Regions from separate parts of the Homo sapiens genome. Here regions 1 and 3 are each linked to region 2. Evidence: promoter capture Hi-C in human tissues and cell types (Jung and others, 2019). All regions are on one chromosome and are shown on one strand. Each heading gives the region's core, a stretch centred on a gene start or on the middle of the fragment in contact. The rest is flanking DNA. Distances are from core to core; before and after follow the strand shown.

Region 1 (3,293 bases), core at 742-3,241, 1.2 Mb after region 2:
CAAATGGCTAACTAGCATAAAGAGCATAGAGAAGACCTTAAATGACCTGATGGAGCTGAAAACCATGGCACGAGAACTACGTGATGCGTGCACAAGCTTCAGTGGCCGATTCGATCAACTGGAAGAAAGAGTATCAGTGACTGAAGATCAAATGAATGAAAGGAAGTGAGAAGAAAAGTTTAGAGAAAAAAGAGTAAAAAGAAATGAACAAATCCTCCAAGAAATATGGGACTATGTGAAAAGACCAAATCTACGTCTGATTGGTGTACCTGAAAGTGATGGGGAGAATGGAACCAGGTTGGAAAACACTCCTCAGGATATTATCCAGGAGAACTTCCCCAACCTAGCAAGGCAGGCCAACATTCAAATTCAGGAAATACAAAGAACACCACAAAGATAATCCTTGAGAAGAGCAACTCCAAGACACATAACTGTCAGATTCACCAAAGCTGAAATGAAGGAAAAAATGTTAAGGGCAGGCAGAGAGAAAGGTCAAGTTACCCACAAAGGGAAGCCCATCAGACTAACAGCAGATCACTCGGCAGAAACTCTACAAGCCAGAAGAGAGTGGGGGCCAATATTTTCAATCCAGAATTTCATATCCAGCCAAACTAAGCTTCATAAGTGAAGGAGAAATAAAATCCTTTACAGACAAGCAAATGCTGAGAGATTTTATCACCACCAGGCCTGCCTTACAAGAGCTCTTGAAGGAAGCACTAAACATGGAAAGGAACAACCAGTACCAGCCACTGCAAAAACATGCCAAATTGTAAAGATCATCGATGCTAGGAAGAAACTGCATCAACTAACGAGCAAAATAACCAGCTAACATCATAATGACAGGATCAAATTCACACATAACAATATTAACCTTGAATGTAAATGGGCTAAATGCCCCAATTAAAAGACAAAGACTGGCAAATTGGATAGAGTCAAGACCCATCAGTGTGCTGTATTCAGGAGACCCATCTCACATGCAGAGACACACATAAACTCAGAATAAAGGGATGGAAGAAGATCTACCAAGCAAATGGAAGACAAAAAAAAGCAGGGATTGCAATCCTAGTCTCTGATAAAAGAGACTTTAAACCAACAAAGATCAAAAGAGACAAGGAAGACTGCTACATAATGGTAAAGGGATCAATTCAACAAGAACAGCTAACTATCCTAAATATATATGCACCCAATACAGGAGTACCCAGATTCATAAAGCAAGTCCTTAGAGACCTACAAAGAGACTTAGACTCCCACACAATAATAATGGGAGATTTTAACACCCCACTGTCAACATTAGACAGATCCACGAGAAAGAAAGTTAACAGGGTTATCCAGGAATTGAACTCAGCTCTGCACCAAGTGGACCAAATAGACATCTACAGAACTCTCCACCCCAAATCAACAGAATATACATTCTTCTCAGCACTACATCGCACTAATTCCAAAACTGACCACATAGTTGGAAGTAAAGCACTCCTCAGCAAATGTAAAAGAACAGAAATTATAACAAACTGTCTCTCAGGCCACAGTGCAATCAAACTAGAACTCAGGATTAAGAAACTCACTCAAAACCACTCAACTACGTGGAAACTGAACAACCTGTTCCTGAATGACTACTGGGTACATAACGAAATGAAGGCAGAAAGAAAGTGCTCTTTGAAACCAATAAGAACAAAGACACAACATACCAGAATCTCTGGGACACATTCAAAGCAGTGTGTAGAGGGAAATTTATAGAAACTAAATGCCCACAAGAGAAAGCAGGAAAGATCTAAAATTGACACCCTAACATCACAATTAAAAGAACTAGAGAAGCAAGAGCAAACACATTCAAAAGCAGCAGAAGGCAAGAAATAACTAAGATCAGAGCAGAACTGAAGGAGATAGAGACACAAAAAACCCTTCAAAAAATCAATGAATCCAGGAGCTGGTTTTTTGAAAAGATAAACAAAACTGACAGATCGCTAGCAAGACTAATAAAGAAGAAAAGAGAGGAGAATCAAATAGATGCAATAAAAAATGATAAAGGGGATATCACCACAGATCTCACAGAAATACAAACTACTATCAGAGAATACTATAAACATCTCTACCCAAATAAACTAGAAAATCTAGAAGAAATGGATAAATTCCTGGGCACCTACACCCTCCCAAGACTAAACCAGGAAGAAGTTGAATCCCTGAATAGATCAATAACAGGCTCTGAAATTGAGGCAGTAATTAATAGCCTATCAACCAAAAAAAGTCCAGGACCAGATGGATTCACAGTTGAATTCTACCAGAGGTACAAGGAGGAGCTGGTACCATTCCTTCTGAAAATATTCCAATCAATAGAAAAAGAGGGAATCCTCCCTAACTCATTTTATGAGGCCAGCATCATCCTGATACCAAGGCCTGGTGGAGACAAAACAAAAAAAGAATTTTAGACCAATATCCCTGAAGAACATTGATGCAAAAATCCTCAATAAAATACTGGCAAACCGAATCCAGCAGCACATCAAAAAGCTTATCCACCATGATCAAGTGGACTTCATCCCTGGGATGCAAGGTTGGTTCAACATACGCAAATCAATAAATGTAATCCATCATACAAACAGAACCAAAGACAAAAATCACATGATTATCTCAAAAGATGCAGAAAAGGCCTTTGACAAAATTCAACAGTCCTTCATGCTAAAAACTCTCAATAAATTAGGTATTGACGGGACGTATCTCAAAATACTAAGAGCTATTTGTGACAAACCCACACCCAATATCATACTGAATGGGCAAAAACTGGAAGCATTCCCTTTGAAAACTGGCACAAGACAGGGATGCCCCCTCTCACCACTCCTATTCAACATAGTGTTGGAAATTCTGGCCAGGGCAATGGGCAGGACAAAGAAATACAGGGTATTCAATTAGGAAAAGAGGAAGTCAAATTGTTCCTATTTGCAGATGACATGATTGTATATTTAGAAAACCCCATCAGCTCAGCCCAAAGTCTCCTTAAGCTAATAAGCAACTTCAGCAAAGGCTCAGGATACAAAATCAGGGTACAAAAATCACAAGCATTCTTACACACCAGTAACAGACAAACAGAGAGCCAAATCATGAGTGAACTCCCATTCACAATTACTACAAAGAGAATAAAATACCTAGGAATCCAACTTACAAGGGATGTGAAGGACCTCTTCAAGGAGAACTACAAACCACTGCTCAATGAAATAAAAGAGGACACAAACAAATGGAAGAATATTCCATGCTCATGGATAGGAAGAATCAATATCGTGAAAATGGCCATACTGCCCAAGATA
Region 2 (3,327 bases), core at 86-2,585:
CACTATAAAGCACTGTCATTTGCAGTCCCACCAGTCTCTCAGTACCCACCCCCACTCTGCCACACACACCCCTGGGAGTCTTAGGTGTGAAATGGGTGGACTCACAGACCCCTGGGCTGCATACCTCAAAGTGTTCCAACACTCAAGGCACTGCCTGTGGTTTTTTGGGAGTGAAATAAAAACCTAACAATGGTGGGGTCACAGTCTCCAGTAGGTCACATTTTAAAAGCACTTTAGGCTCTGGAGACTTGGGGTGTGGGGAGAAGTGAAGAGAAAGCTGGGGAGCCCTGGGCCTTCCCCCATTTCTTCATATGCAGAATAATCCAGATTAGTTTACCAAGCGCGCTGATAACCACTTTAAAAACAGAGTCCCTCCTGCCTCCCCGTGGCATGGGGTAGAACCTGGCTTGAGCCCCGACACAGGCGGGCAGCCACTCCAGGATCGTTCCACACGTAAACAAAGACGAGTTTCGGTCCGATTGGCTTGATCCTGGAAGAGGAGTGGGCAGTGGAGGGAGGGGAAACCAGGCACCAAAGCAAATTCCTTCATTTCATAATTTCATCTGGCGCCCCCGTTCAATCAGCCTGCATTGTCGAGGCTTTAGGAGAGGCAGTTAGGAAAGGAGAGATACTGATCTCTCAGCCCCAGGGCAGCACTAATGGTGCCTGTCTAGACTCTGACAGGTGGAGCTGCTGAGCTAACTACGGACCTGGTGGGGGAAGTTTTCCTTGGCTTTCACGTGGCTTTGGCTGGGGAGCCCTGAGAAGGTGGCTGCCTCCTTTTTCTGAAGCCTGGCTTCCCATACGGCAGTGGCTGGGGGAGAGTGATGGAGAGAAAGGCTAAGCTAAGGTCAAAGAAAGTGGAGGAAGGCTGGCTTGTCCCGCTGGACTTGACGGCGGAGCTGCTGCAATCTCGCGGGCTGGGCCCTTGCCCCGGGTGGACCCGAGTGCCTGCGGGGAGGCGGGTGTGGCTCCCCCGGGAGGTGACAGCTGGCGGGGCCCGTAAGGAGCTGGTCTGCTCCGGCTCCCCTCTCGTAGCCGGCGCCCTGGGACCAGCGCGTGAGCACGTCTCGGAGGAGTCCGATGCGCTGGGCAGGGCCGGGTGGTCACCCCCGCCCAGCTTCCAGGGGTGACTGTGCCTCTGACGTCAGACGGTTTTTGGGTCATTCCCTGGCACGGGGACTTTATTTTCATAACAGCATGAAGTGCCGTGGAACTGGAATAGGCGTGTCCTCTCCCTCGACCCTCCCCCTCCTTGTCCCTCTGCTCACCCCTCGCTCGTTCCCTCCCTCCGGCGAGGGCCGCCTTTATAACAACTGCTCAGAGTGCGAGGGCGGGATAGCTGTCCAAGGTCTCCCCCAGCACTGAGGAGCTCGCCTGCTGCCCTCTTGCGCGCGGGAAGCAGCACCAAGTTCACGGCCAACGCCTTGGCACTAGGGTAAGTGAGGCGCCAGGAGCCCAGAGCGCTGGGGCCTCCGGATTTAAATCGTCTGGGGAGAGCGGGGCGTTGGGAGGGGTGGGATAGAAGAGGAGAGAAATCCTGGTAATGGAATACAGTTGGCTATGAGAAAAAAATTCCCTAGGAAACAGTTCCTCTAGTTTAACAACTCAGATTTTTTTTTTTTTTTTTCCCCTTTGCGGGTTTCCTAGGCTAAGATAGAGGCAGAGAGCAAAGAGATAATCAGGGTAATAGTTTCTGCTCGGACACATTCTACAAACTTTGAGTAGATGGAATCCGGCCAGGCAGGAGGTGAGCAGCTCTGGGATCACTCTGCAGGAAAAGAATAGAGGGAGAAAGATCTCAGAGGACCCGAAGGTACTGGGAGTGGAGGGGGAGTGGGAAACAAGGGGCAGGGGCAGGAGGGAGGACACGGTGACAGCTACTATTTTACCCAGATGCTGCAAAAAGCCCTTCTGAGTTTTGGGAATTAGATCTAGAAGCCCATCCCTTTTCTCTTGATGTGTGGGCGGTCAGTTCCACTCTGGTGTGCCTTGAGTTGCTCAGAAACCTGGGACAGATGAAAGTTGAATGTGCGCTGAGAGTGCACCTTCCACTACCGACTTTATGGATAGGATTTGGGAATAGCATAGATGCTGTTCCATCTGGTCCCTTAAACATCCATGGGGAAGGCTGGCAAATAGCTTTATTTTATTTTTTGAGATGGAGTTTCACTCTTGTTGCCCAGGCTGGAGTACAATGTTGCGATCTCAGCTCACCGCGACCTCCACCTCCCGGGTTCAAGCGATTCTCCTGCCTCAGACTCCCGAGTAGCTGGGATTACAGGCATGCACCACCACTCCTGGTTAATTTTGTATTTTTAGTAGAGACGGGGTTTCCCCATGTTGGTCAGGTTGGTCTCAAACTCCCGACCTAAGGTGATCTGCCCGCCTCAGCCTCCCAAAGTGCTGGGATTACAGGTGTGAGCCCCCGCGCCCGGCCACAGATAGCTTTAAACATCCATGGGAAAGGCTAGCTAACAGCTGAAACCTGCTCAGAATCAAGGAATTTGAAGGACTTTCCATTCCTGACTTCTTTCCATTCCTGATTGTCTCCTCAGAGGCTTGTGTAAACACCACACCTGTTGAAGGGTTCGGCCGAATCAGCCACTGCTGTGGGTTCATTCCTGAAGGGGAACACTTCAGCTACTTCAGACACAATGGGCTAGGGACCACGGGAGGGGTGAGGGCGGAGGGGGCACACACCCTCCAGGTTTGCATGCCGGTGTCTGCTAGGTGAGGGAAGGAATGAGGGGAAGGAAGGGCCGGGAGAGGCGCTACGTGGGAAACAAGGGACCTCTCCAAGGGCGTGGAGAGGTGAGTGCCTCAAGGGCAGAATGGAATGAGCAGAACCCTTTGGTTTCCCGGGAAGAGCTCTCAACCTTGAGTCAGGAAGACTGATTTCTCCTCCCAGCTCCGCAGGAACATGGAACTGTGATCAGGCAAGGGGCTGGGCCTGAGTTCCTCATAGGGGTCTTGGGGAGGCCCCCAGTTTCCCCTCCTGTGTTTCGATTCTGGCCCCTCTCCATCTGCACACGTCGCCTTGGAAGTTCCCTTTAGAACTGGCTTTTTTGTATTCTAGTCTTGAATGGTAATCGAAGACAACAGGGTATGAAGAACAATTTTGACGGCGTGATTTTATTCTTCTCATTCTGGGTCCACTACTATTTAAAGTCCCAAGATTAAGCTGAGGAATTAATATGGTGGTATAGTAAACAATAAATTGAGGAGTATTTTTGCTTGAGGAATCTTTGACTTCCTGAGTAGTTCAGGGTGTTTGCTTCTTTTATTCTCATTTTTATTGCACTGTGGTCAGACTATATGGTCTGC
Region 3 (2,951 bases), core at 295-2,794, 1.2 Mb before region 2:
CTAGGAGATAGTAGGGCCACCTGCACTGTTTTGTGAGCAGGACAGATAAGAGGCAAGTGGAGAGGGTGGGAGAGCACTGGCTTGCATCATACACCCCAGCTGCCCTTGCAGGGCCCGACTGTTACAAGCCAGGTATTTCTAGGACGATTGCATTCCTAGCCATATCTGTTTTCTTTCAGATGGGGCGTACAATTTACCTTTTGAGTTCTGTAAATGGAATCGAGGTGAAATCTTTACTCTGGTGCACATATGACCTGCAGGTTGATGCTGCTTGTTTGGAAAGCCCTCTACTTCACAGCGAACAGTTTGTACTGTCAGGTAGACCTCTCTGCCAGGGGACCAACTCCTGTGTATTTGAAAAGGAAGACAAACCTGTATTTTGTAGAAAGGGTCTATTGTTCCCAGGGGGTGGTTGTGGCCAACTTCTTGGACTCCTTTGGCTGACTCTGAAGAAGGAATTGAAGTCAGAATGCTAATCACTGACTTGCACAGGCCTCAACAATCAAACCTCAGGGAACTCAGAAGAAAGTAAACAAGAGCGCTCAATTGCAGAGTCTTGAAGAAGAGCAGCTGTGTAAAGGAGGCTAGACGTGAAAAAAACGTGTTGGAGAGGAAAAAAAATCACATTCCCTGCTTCTCAAATGGGAAGTCTTAAAAATAATAAAGAATCCTGAGCAGCGGGCTCATTTCCCATGAGCAGGCTTGCTGTGGCAGGCAGGCTCACCTGCTAGAGGTGGTCTCCTGGCTTAGAATGGGAGCACACCTGTGGGAATCGCAGCGCTTCTCTACCTGAGCTGGATGTAGATTGTTTGAAAATCCTAGTTGTGCACTGCGTTTCCATCGATCCCTTTCATGCTCCCACTTGTTCCTTTAGTTCCAAATAGCAGGCTGGTGTTGAGAATTCTGTCATCATGGGGCGTTTTTTTCTAAATGTGAGAAATGTCGGAAGCATGGGTGTTCTCAGATTGCTTTAGCCACTGATGATTTTCCTTTTAGTGTATGGAAAGAATGATTTTCTTCTCAATTTCTCCCCTCTAACCTCCTGCATGTAGATTTATGGATTCTAATCGGGACCTTTCTTTGATTCAGTGCCAGGTACACAGGCCCCGAGTCGTATGTGGCAAGTGGCCAAGGGGATCGGTCCTGGAGAACGTCATGGCACACAGGCATTGGCCATGGAGTGGTGATCCCTGGCTCTGGTTCTTCTCCGTCCAGTGACCTGGCATGTCACCTCACAGGGCCATATTTACCTGTTAACTGAGAAACTGAACTAGAACATGGTTATGATAATTTTAATCTCAACTTTGTCTCCTCCTATCTTATGGCAGTAAAGTGACCTTTTAGCAGGATCAATTTATAAGCCGTTTGAAGTCTATCTTTTCTTCCCTTAGCAGTTGTATTTGTGATTTTCTCAGCCTGATTTTAAGTTATTCTGTTATAATTTTGAATGTTCTGTTATGCTTCCCTCTGTGGTGAGCATACGTCGAAAGCTGTACATTTCCTTCAGGGTAACCTTTGTTTCCAACAGGAGAGAGTTCTCACTACCACATCCAGCCTTGATCTCTTTAACCTAAATTGGAATAAGCCAGACAGAGCTGGGGTTCATGGGACAGATGGGAGCATCTCAAGTTTAGGGTTGGGGAGTCTCAGTGAAAAAAAAAAAAAAAAGAACAAGAATGTAGACTTGGAATTTGAGAACAGATAAAGCAGTCCTCACTTGTGCTCTGCAAGGGAGTGCTGTTGTCTTCTAAGGTATTGAACAGACTGGGTGGGAAGCTGCTGAAAGACTGGAAATTTGGGGACTTAGCAAGAAGTATAATGGTGCTGTAACTGCGTTTTCTTAAGGAAACTTGGAGCTGAGGTGCCACCTCCCTGGGAGGGACTTTTCCACTGGTTTCTTGCAGTCTGGACATCACAGACGGCCCAGACTCCCCCCTGTCTTGTGTACATTCCCTTCTACAAGCCTTGCTGTGTTATCACAGGTACCACTTGTAGGCCAGTATCATGGGGGATGGACATTGTTTCATTCTAGGCACATTCAGGAATCGTATATGTACCCTGCCTCGCTTCTGACCTCTCAAGTCAACTTTTGGAGCTGTTAGTGACTTCCAGAAAGCTGACACCCAGTGCCACTCAACCAACCCTGCTTTTCTGCTGGTTTATTTTTGTTATTCCTACCCCGACTCATCTTGCTTTTCAGCCATCAATGAGAATTTATTGAGTTACTCAGACACTCACTCAGACCCTGTGGGAGAGTAGAAAGATGTGTAAGAAACTGTCCCAGAATTTTGAGGGACTTAAAATCCATTCGAAAAGGCAAGGTCTAAGCACATGAAAAGTTACCTAGCAATATCAGCTCATGAATGGAGAGACAGTTGATCAGAGAAAGAGAAATGTCTGTTCAGGAGTGGTCAGGGGAGGCTGCATTGAGGTGATGCACACGTGTGGCCTGAAAGCTTGATTCGTTCCCCACCCCCCATTGTATTCTATATGTAATATTTGATATATAACCAAGAAGCTATGTGAGTTACAAAGCATGATGATACAGTGAACACCTATGAACTCACCACCCAACATAAGAACCAAAATGACTGATATTGATACCCTACCTATATACCTCTACCTTCTTCCTCATTCTACCCCTGCCCTCTTATCCCAGTTAGCCACTGTCTTAAATTTTACAGATTTTATTCCGTTCCTTTTTTTCTTTTTTGAAAGCGTTTGATCTTTTCTTCTCTCCTCCTCTCCTCTCCTCTCCTCTCTTCTTCTTTTCTTTCTTTTCGAGATGAGGTCTCGCTATGTTGTGCAGGCTGGTCTGGAACTCCTGAGCTCAAATGATCCTCCCACCTTAACCTCCCAATAGCTGAGAATATAGGCCTGTACCACTGCACCTGGCTAGATCTCATGTTTTCTTTGGAAATCTAGTAATTGTGATATAGGATCTCTGAATG

Evidence for each region. The method cuts DNA at HindIII sites, captures the fragments that hold promoters and counts their contacts. A contact is called where the count stands out against the background at its distance.
Region 1: a fragment that was not itself captured here is called in contact with the fragment with the promoter of GPRC5A in region 2 in 1 of the 25 tissues and cell types used here (dorsolateral prefrontal cortex).
Region 3: a contact is called between a fragment that was not itself captured here and the fragment with the promoter of GPRC5A in region 2, in 1 of the 25 tissues and cell types used here (IMR-90 fibroblasts).

What each region holds. Positions count from the first base shown.
Region 1 is chr12:14,080,696-14,083,988 of GRCh38, forward strand. No RefSeq gene overlaps it. Among named protein-coding and RNA genes, the nearest start is that of GRIN2B, 100 kb to the left of the region's middle. The HindIII fragment of the contact is 4,357 bases long and covers 1-3,293 here.
Region 2 is chr12:12,890,227-12,893,553 of GRCh38, forward strand. GPRC5A (G protein-coupled receptor class C group 5 member A) reads left to right here and starts at 1,336. Exons shown (of 4, transcript NM_003979.4): 1 at 1,336-1,438. The HindIII fragment of the contact is 16,829 bases long and covers 1-3,327 here.
Region 3 is chr12:11,706,606-11,709,556 of GRCh38, forward strand. All of the region lies in intron 1 of ETV6 (ETS variant transcription factor 6), which reads left to right. Among named protein-coding and RNA genes, the nearest start is that of ETV6, 58 kb to the left of the region's middle. The HindIII fragment of the contact is 6,682 bases long and covers 1-2,951 here.